Linked DNA regions of Homo sapiens: region 1 is linked to region 2. The links are contacts of gene promoters, found by promoter capture Hi-C in blood cells and fetal thymus (Javierre and others, 2016). All regions are on one chromosome and are shown on one strand. Each heading gives the region's core, a stretch centred on a gene start or on the middle of the fragment in contact. The rest is flanking DNA. Distances are from core to core; before and after follow the strand shown. Region 1 overlaps C2CD2 (C2 calcium dependent domain containing 2). Region 2 holds the start of UMODL1-AS1 (UMODL1 antisense RNA 1).

What was found. The method cuts DNA at HindIII sites, captures the fragments that hold promoters and counts their contacts. A CHiCAGO score of 5 or more calls a contact.
Region 1: a contact is called between a fragment that was not itself captured here and the fragment with the promoter of UMODL1-AS1 in region 2, in 7 of 17 cell types (naive CD4 T cells, M0 macrophages, M1 macrophages and 4 more). The highest score is 8.7, in naive CD4 T cells.

The regions. Positions count from the first base shown.
Region 1 is chr21:41,900,094-41,904,507 of GRCh38, forward strand. It overlaps C2CD2 (C2 calcium dependent domain containing 2), which reads right to left. Exons shown (of 14, transcript NM_015500.2): 12 at 1,529-1,656. Among named protein-coding and RNA genes, the nearest start is that of PRDM15, 23 kb to the left of the region's middle. The HindIII fragment of the contact is 9,224 bases long and covers 1-4,414 here.
Region 2 is chr21:42,105,653-42,109,913 of GRCh38, forward strand. UMODL1-AS1 (UMODL1 antisense RNA 1) reads right to left here and starts at 2,882. Exons shown (of 2, transcript NR_027243.1): 1 at 2,644-2,882. It overlaps UMODL1 (uromodulin like 1), which reads left to right. Exons shown (of 23, transcript NM_001004416.3): 10 at 3,910-4,047. RefSeq lists an enhancer at 2,031-2,150 and a silencer at 2,127-2,421. The HindIII fragment of the contact is 14,881 bases long and covers 1,735-4,261 here.

The sequences.
Region 1 (4,414 bases), core at 1-2,500, 210 kb before region 2:
TCCCCGTCTCTACTTAAAAAAGTACAAAAAATTAGCTGGTCGTAGTGGCGGGCGCCTGTACTCCCAGCTACTCAGGAGGCCGAGGCAGGAGAATGGCGTGAACCTGGGAGGCGGAGCTTGCAGTGAGCCGAGATTACGCCACTGCACTCCAGCCTGGGTGACAGAGCGAGACTCCGTCTCAAAAAAATAAAATAAAATAAAATAAAGATTAGATAATCTGAGCACCAATAAAAATAATCACTGCGGTGAATTCAGAACATTAAATACTAAGATCCAGGAGTTCTTTGTGATTTTTAAATATGATCTTAGAGAAAGTATAGGGGAGATGACCACGAGTCTTGTCCTTATTTTGCTCATTCATTCACCCAAGAGCGAAGAAAACCCAACTACTGGGCCCCGGACTTCCAGAGAGGTCATGGATCCCTGCTGAGGGCCCCTGGAGGGGCTCAGGAAGCCCCCAAAACACCACCCGCCTGCCTCTGGGACGTGGGGCAAGGCCACCCTCTGGGTACAATGGCAAGGTTGATGACTCATCTCTGGCACCTCCAAGGTCCTGTTCTGGCCTGTCTCCCAGCCACTGAGGAATCCATCTTCTGCGTGCCCTCTGCCCACCCACCCACTCTTTTGTCCAGAATTCTTCCTCATCCCCCTCCTACTCCAAATCAAAATCTTCCCAACTCTCCCTCCACCTGTTCATTTGGAAATGTCAAAAAAAAGTAAGGGCCGGGAGCAGTGGCTGACGCCCGTAATCCCAACATTTTGGAAGGCCAAGGTGGATGGATCGCTTGAGCCCAGGAGTTCAAGACCAGCCTGAGCAATGTGGTGAAACCCCATCTCTACCAAAAATACAAAAATTAGCCAGTCTCATAACAAATTAGCTGGTCTCAAAATAAATAAATAGATAGATAAAAATTTTAAAATCAATTTTAAAAAATGTAATAAAAAGAGTAAGGATCTGTAACATGGCCCTTCACCTGAGGGGCTGGCCTCTCCACAGCTGAAACCACACACTTGCCACCACCTGCTCTGAGCGGACGTCCCAGAGCGGGAGAAGGGGGAGAAAGGGAGTGCGGTGTCCACGGGGGACACTACAATGTTCATTTCTCTCTGATTACAAAAGGAATAAACATTCACTGCAAAAAAGTAAAAGGCTTTGGAAACGTGTCACGTGGAAAGTGAAAGTTCCCCGTGACTGGGTGGTGACGAGAGCAGAGGTTCTGTACCAAAGGGGAGTCTTACATCATGTTCCTCTCTTTCGATAATTTTTCTTGAAATGATTTGCCAACCTCTCAACGTGTAAAGCGTCCCTGATTAGAAAGTCTCCCATGTCCTTGGTGAATAGGATAAACTGTGTAAACACAACACCACACATGACTCCTTTGTGGGGTGAGGAACATAATTTGACATTTGTAAATGGAACTCTCTGGACGTTAACCAAGTGCTTGGGCTAACTTCTTCAAAGGGCAGAGGAGCAGCAGGTCACTGACAGATGACCAGATGAACACCTCCCCAGCCACCACGATGGTACCTTGGAGATCCCTGATATGATAATAGTGCTTTTCTTCCGTGGCGACTTGAGTTTCAGCTTTGAAGATTCACTGAGCTGTCGAATGGCCACTTCAGCCACTGGATCCGAACCATTCAACACCAACAATTCTACCAGAAGGAAGGCAGTGTTAAGTTCATCAGCAAAAATTAAAGACTTCCATGGGAACTTCCAGGGATAATGGAAATGGTCGATAAGCAATGGTTAGCAGATATTTTCTAAAAGGGGCCAAAGGGTCAATTGTTTAGGCTTTGTTGGTGGTCTCTGCAACAACTTCTCAATGCAGCTTTTATAGAGTGAAACCAGCTAGAGACCACAGGTAAATAAATGAGCATGGCTGGGTTTCAGTAAAACTTTATTTACAAAAACAAGTGACGGGCCAGATTTTTCCTATGGGCCATAGTTTGCTGTTTGCTGACCCCTGGTCTACAGCTTGATTCCCTGGGTGGTTACAAGATACTCACTGAAGTGTCTGCTTAAGATTCACCGATTTTATTTATTTAAGTTATACCTGAATAGAGTTGATGGAAAATGGCAAAAGCAAGCAAACAACAAAAAAAAAATATCTAACCCTTTGGAAGATTTTGAACTTTGAAAGGCAAGGTAGTGACTCCTTTTCCCTCCCAAGAGTGCCTAAATACATAGAATAGTAACTAGAGCTATGAAGGGCCAGTTAATAAAAGCACCTCCTTCCCCAGGTTAATAACAACACACACCAGCCAACATCAATAGAATGCTTACGGCAAACCAGGTGCTGTTCAGAGACAGAGCTCTGTGCACATTCTCTCATTTACTCCTATTCCACACCCCATGAGCAGGTCCTTCCTTTTATCCCATTTGACCATTGAGGAGTATGTCCAGCAGCCAGGAGGCCCCAGAGCTGAGATGACCAGCAGGTCTCTCTGACTCAGAGCTGATGCTTGTAACTTACACTTTCCTGCTCAGGTAAAGTCAAAATGGCAAAGCTATTAAAGTAGCAGGATGGTAAAAGGAACTTCTGTCTCGGTTTTGGCCATGGCCTGAGGCTTACAGATGCTGCATTTCCAAAGGGAGTCAAGATAAGACCACAGAGGCCAAGAACCGGTGACAACAGTGACACTGGGGAATAATAAATAGATACTTGGTCTTCCTCCCTGGTTCCTGGCACAGAGAACAAAAAAAAAAATCCTTTGAATTCCAGAGCCACGGAGCTGGGGCATCCTTCTCATTCCTAATAAGCCCCTGCACCCCATCCGAGTGAATGCTAATGAGGACGGGCACTGGATGTCAGAGGCACCAACCCTGTGGTTAGAAGGCTGGAACTTTCTGCCCTCCTCTCGCCTGTGGGGAAGGGAAAGGGGCTAGAGATTGAGCTCAAATCACCAAAGGCCAATAAGTGAATCAATCATGCCTACATACCTACTTATAGAAGCACCATAAACCCCCTAAATGACAGGGCTCAGGGAGCGTCCAGGTTGTGAACCAACGCATGCACGTACTGGGAAAGGGGCGACTCCACGGAGATCAAAGCTCCCACACTCAGGACCCTCCCAGACTGTGCCCTGAGCCCCTTCATCTGGCTGTGCATTTGTGTGATAATAAACTGGTAAACCCAAGTAAAGTGTTTCTCTGAGTTCTGTGAGCCATTATAGCAAATTACGGAACCCGAGGAGTGTGTCATGGAAACCCCAATTTGTAGCCAAGTGGGACAAAAGTGTGGTAACCTGGGGACCCACTATTTGCACCTGACATCTAAAGTGGAAGGGTGGTTTTGTGGGGCTGAGCCTTTCACCTGTGGGATCTGAGCTAACTCCAGGTAATGCCAGAATTGAATTAAATTGTAGGACACCCAGTTGGTGTCTGCAGAGAAACAGAAAATTGCTTGCCATAGAAAATCTACACATTTGGCGTCAGGAGTGTTGTGAGTAGAGGAACAGATTTTTGTTTAGCCACTGACCCACACTGAGAAGAGAGAAGTGCTGGAGAAAGGAGTTGGGGAGGACTCCTTAGGAGAAAGCTGTGCTGTAATTCCCAAAGCCACCAAGGGAGACGTGTCGGGAGCACGTCCTCCTCACGCCAGGCCCAGTGCTTCTGTTCAGTCCCCCGAGAGCCCGGTCCAGGTGCCAGGTGCAGCCTGCACCGTGGCAGGTGAGCCTGGGGGCCGGCTCCATGGACCATGCATCAGAACCCACAGTGGGAACATCAGCCTAGGTCTTTTAAGAGGGATCCTGCCCACGTGACAGGACCCCGCAGCATGGGCAGTGGGGGCACTGCCAGGGGAAGAAACTGAGGAAGGGGCATCAGGGGCAGCGGCAAAAGCATCAGCGGCATTAGTACCAGAGCGGCTCCAGCTCAAATAAGGGCTGGGCAAAATGAGGCTGGGATCCCCTGGGCTGCACTCCCAGGAGGTGAGGTGCCCTTACTCACAGGGTGAGCTAGGAGGTCGGCACAAGACACAGGTCACAAGGACCCTGCTGATAAAACAGGATGTGGTAAAGAAGCCGGCCACAACCTACCAAAACCAAGACGGCAATGAGAGTGACCTCTGGCTGTCCTCACTGCCGATGATACACTGAGGATAACGCATTAGCATGCTAAAAGACACTCCCACCAGCACCATGACAGTTTGCAACTGCCATGGCAAAGGCAAGAAGTTACCCTACGTGGTCTGAAAAGGGGAGGAATGCTCAGTTCTGAGAAATCGCCGCCCCTCGTAGAAAACTCGTGAATAATCCACCACTTGTTTAACATATGATCAAGAAAGAACCAGAAAAAGAGCCAACCAGCAGCCCGTACGGGTTCTCTGCCTACAGAGTAGCCATTCTTTTATTCCTTTACTTTCTTAATAACTTGTTTTCAATTTACTCTGTGGACTCGCCCCGAATTCTT
Region 2 (4,261 bases), core at 1,632-4,131:
CAAGATTGGAGTGATGCAGCCACAAGCCAAAGGACTCCTGGAGCCACAAGATAAGACACTGGAAGAGGCCTGGGAAAGCCCCTTTCCTAGAGCCCCAGAGGGAGGGCGGCCCTGCTGACACCTGGAGTTTGGACTTCGCCTCCGGAACGGCGGGAATACATCTGTGCTGTTTCAGGCCCCCCAGCTGGTGTGTTTGTGATGGCAGCCACAGGAGACCCGTGTCTTGCACCTCTAGGACTGGATGAATCCATTGTAAGCATTCGCAGCACCCCACTCCCCACGCTGTTCAGTGGTCCTGCAGAAGTTATTAAGCTCCTTCTGCAGGCTCTTGCCCGGCAGGGTCCCGGGCAGGCTGTGGCCTGCTTCCTCCACATTTCAGAGCTGAGGTGCTGGTGCGGGCAGGTCTCCTGAGCTGGGGGGTCAGCTGTGTGGCCAGTGATGGTGACGCCTCAGGCCGTGCATGGCCGGGGAGGCGGCCCTGCCTCTGCACTCTTTTGACTCCATGACTACTGGTGTCTTCGGACGCCAGAGTCGGGGGAGCAACCATGGGGCACCGCCCCTGCCTGGGGAGGCAGCACGAGGCCTGAGCCCAGCTTACAGGGGGACATCCACCCCCGCTGAGAGCCCCACCTTCACGGCGAGGATCTGTAGAAGAAGACATTTGATATTACTCGGCAAAAAAAACAAGAAACGAAAACACAAAAAGAGCTCCTCTGAAGAAGAAAAGGTATTTGCGCTGTGGTCCACCTAGAAATAATGTTGTTGGCACAACTAGAGCATTCCTCAGTCATTCAGGAGCACTCCCTGCCGGTGCGTCCACATGTCCCAACCCCGATAGATGAGGCGCTGTTCGCCCGTGGAGGGGTCAGGTTGTCGTGACCTTATCTTTACCCTTAGGCCGTCCATCCCGGGGCCTGGGGTTTCCTGCGCCAGTCACGGTGGGCTGTGTAGGTGGCCATGTGTTCGGTCTTTCCCCAGGAGGTACGTACCATGTGCTGGGAGGCCTGGAGGCTGAGCCGCCCCCCGCGCCTATGAGTTGCACCCTCACAGCGGCGGCCAAACCTCCTGCTCACTTTGCCCCATAGGAAGAGGTTAGAGTGAGGCGGAACGGGTTGGAATCCCAGCTCTGACACTCACTCACTGTGGGATGCTGCACAAATGACTTCCTCTCCCTGGGCCTCAGTATACTCATCTGTGGAATGAGATTACAGCAACATCCCACCTCCTATGGCGATGGAGTAAATTAAGGCACAATGCCTGTGTGGGTTTAGCCCAGTGCCTGTGCATGGCGACAGTGCATTTCTGATGGCCCCTCCAGCGTTCAGGGCTAACTCTTCCAGGATTAACTTTCATATCTTGGATGAGAGCTCATCTAGGAAGGTCTCCTAGCAACCCCTGGGTTCCCACTGGTCCTTCCGCCTCACGGGGCTCCTTTTTGAACCCCTCACATCATTTCCATTCAATCTCTTGCTCCTAACAGCACGGCCCCTATTCCTTCTCTTTCCCAACATCTGCTCTCAGGAGAGATTCTCATACAGTGTGCATTTGTTCTAGAGTGAGGGTCATCACTGGGCTTCTATGAGGCACCGCTGTGAACCCTCTGCACCGACCTTAGCCAGAGGAGCAGGACTCCCACCGGCATCCTTCTGCGTAAGAGGCCTTGTGGGTCTTCTGGGGCTCTGGAATCAACGCCGCTTTTCCTGGGGCCAGAGTAGGTGGAGCTGAGCTCCCCAAAGCTTCCAGTTTGCTGCCTGCTCCCACCCGCCTCGCCACTGCGCGAGCCCTTTCCATCCCCTCTGCAGAGTGAGAGAAGGGCCGTGAGTGAGGATCCTGGCCTAGGGCTGTCACCATCCCCCTCACCTGCTGGCCAGGCTAACCTACTGCAGGCTGCTTCCTTTCCTTAGGTTCACGGGTACCGCTATTTGTCCAGCGTCCATTTGCGGTGGCATTAGGATGAGGTGCTCTGTGCCCTCTTTCTCCCAGTGTGAATCTGACACACGCCCCCAGGAGAGTCCGAGGGGCATCACTTCTGGAGGACGCCCTGGGCCCTGAAAGACAGCTCATGGTCCAACTGAGGAGCCTGCACCTTGCTGGGACAGGGTGGCCCAGGAGATCTGGGGTCTGTACCTGCTCCTGGACCCTCTCCAGCTTGTTGTTCTGGGTGGGGCCAGCTCAGGAGGGGCACCTGGGCTGGGAGTCTCTGAAGCAGCTGCCCCCATTGCTCCAGGAGAGGGCTCAGCCCTTGTCCCAGCTGCGGGGCCAGTGGGAGCAGTGTGCAGCGTCCTGCCCTGGGCTCTCGCTGGCTCTGCGCCCTCGCCTGGCCAGCCCGGGAGGGTGCAGAGGCTCACTGGCAGCTCTTCCTGCTCCCACACCTGCCTCTTCCTCTGAACTGGAGGGCCGGCAAGCCTCAAGGCTTAATGCAAGACTAAATACAGCTGTCAGCGCCTTCCTCTGAGCTCGCTTGGGAGCTGTCTGGGGGGACGGAGGAGTGAAGATTAGGTGAATCACCACGCCCCAAAATAGACATCAGGTGCTTGGTGGTTTGAGCCAGCGTCTTGCCTGGTGCCTCTGCTGTCCTCCGTGGACTGCAGCCCAGCCAGCCTAGGCTCCAACCCCAACCCGGAGCACCCCCAGGAGAGTTACCTGTAGGCTGGAGGTTGAGTAGCACCCCAGGAAGAGGTGTGGGTTGGCACCAGCAGTGTTCTGATGGCAAGGCAGCCCCCAGGCCATGCTAGGGTGGTGGCATAGCTGTTGTGGCAGCTGACGAGCTTGCTGTTCTCCAGGGAAGCTGCTTCTGTGGAGACCGCAGGAAGCACAACAGAAAAAAACCCACAAAACGAGCCTCAGAGCACTCAGCAGCAGGGTTTTCTTTGCCCAGAACTGAACTGGTCCTGCATCGTGGCTTAAATTCCACCTGAATTGGAACTTCTCTGGCATGCCGGGTGTGGGTTCGTTCCCGAGCACCTCCACCCGCAGCTCTACAGAAGCACGCGCAGAAGGCACTGTCACCTCCAGCAGGGCCTGGCCCTGACGACCTCGGCTCAGCCACCCCATGGGAGCTACATTGTCCTTGTCCTCACCTTCATTCCCCTCAGGCGGGCCCCCCGGTGACATGACATCACAAGTCTTTGGGCACAGGAGGAGGGACATACCTGTGGAGACACCCGGGTGCTCTAGAATATGGCGCGGGAAGTTCATGTTGTACTCCGCTGGACCCCACCCCCGGCGTGGGAAGTTCATGTTGTACTCAGGCTGACCCCCACCCCCCCCACGAGAGAAGTCCATGTTATACTCAGGCTGACCCCCACTCCTGGCATGTAAAGCTGGTGTTATGCTCAGCTGGACCCCCACCCCCGGTGTGGAAAGCTCATGTTATACTCCACTGGCCCCCACCCCCGGCGTGGAAAGCTGGTGTTATACTCCGCTGGACCCCCACCCCCGGCGTGGAAAGCTGGTGTTATACTCCGCTGGACCCCCACCCCCCATGCGGAAAGTTCACGTTATACTCAGCTGTGTCCCCACCCCTGGCTCAGTTACTTTCCTATTTCTTGGTTGAGACACTAAGTATTGGAGAATGTTGGCACATCAAAGAGAGAGGAGAAAACATTTCAAGTTTTGGGTGTGGAAACAGAATAAAGAAGAGAGGGCTACATGCACACCCATGGGTGCTAATATTTAAGGAATGAACATTTCCTAATCTTTGCCCCCAAATAAGCCAACCAATGTGAAGGTGGGCACAGGCAGGCCGTAAGGTTGTCATGAGAGTGTTGGACGGATGCCCCAAAATGCCCCTGCTCCCGGCCGTTCACTGCAAAGACGGCTAGGAAGGACTCCTTCCAGCATGGGTCTGTCTTCTGATCACTCTTTGGCTGTTTTCTCATGGGTTTTGATTGTGTCTCCCCCTGGCAGACTGGGACGAGTGTGTGGACAGCGCGGAACACGACTGCTCACCGGCTGCCTGGTGCATCAACCTGGAGGGCTCCTACACCTGCCAGTGCCGTACCACCAGGGACGCCACCCCCTCCCGCGCAGGCCGGGCCTGTGAGGGTACGTGTCGACCCCCCTGCCGACTCTGGGAAGACCCCCTGCCCGAGAATCTGGGGGTGGGGCAAAGCCCAATTCTCCATAGGCACAGGGCTGAGGACCTATGGTAATGTTAGGGGCCTACAGAAATGTTTTCATTTCAATTTATTTTAAAATCAGAAGAAAGAAATTAATAGAAGGATAGTAAATATACATAAAACAATGAATCTAGCTTGGA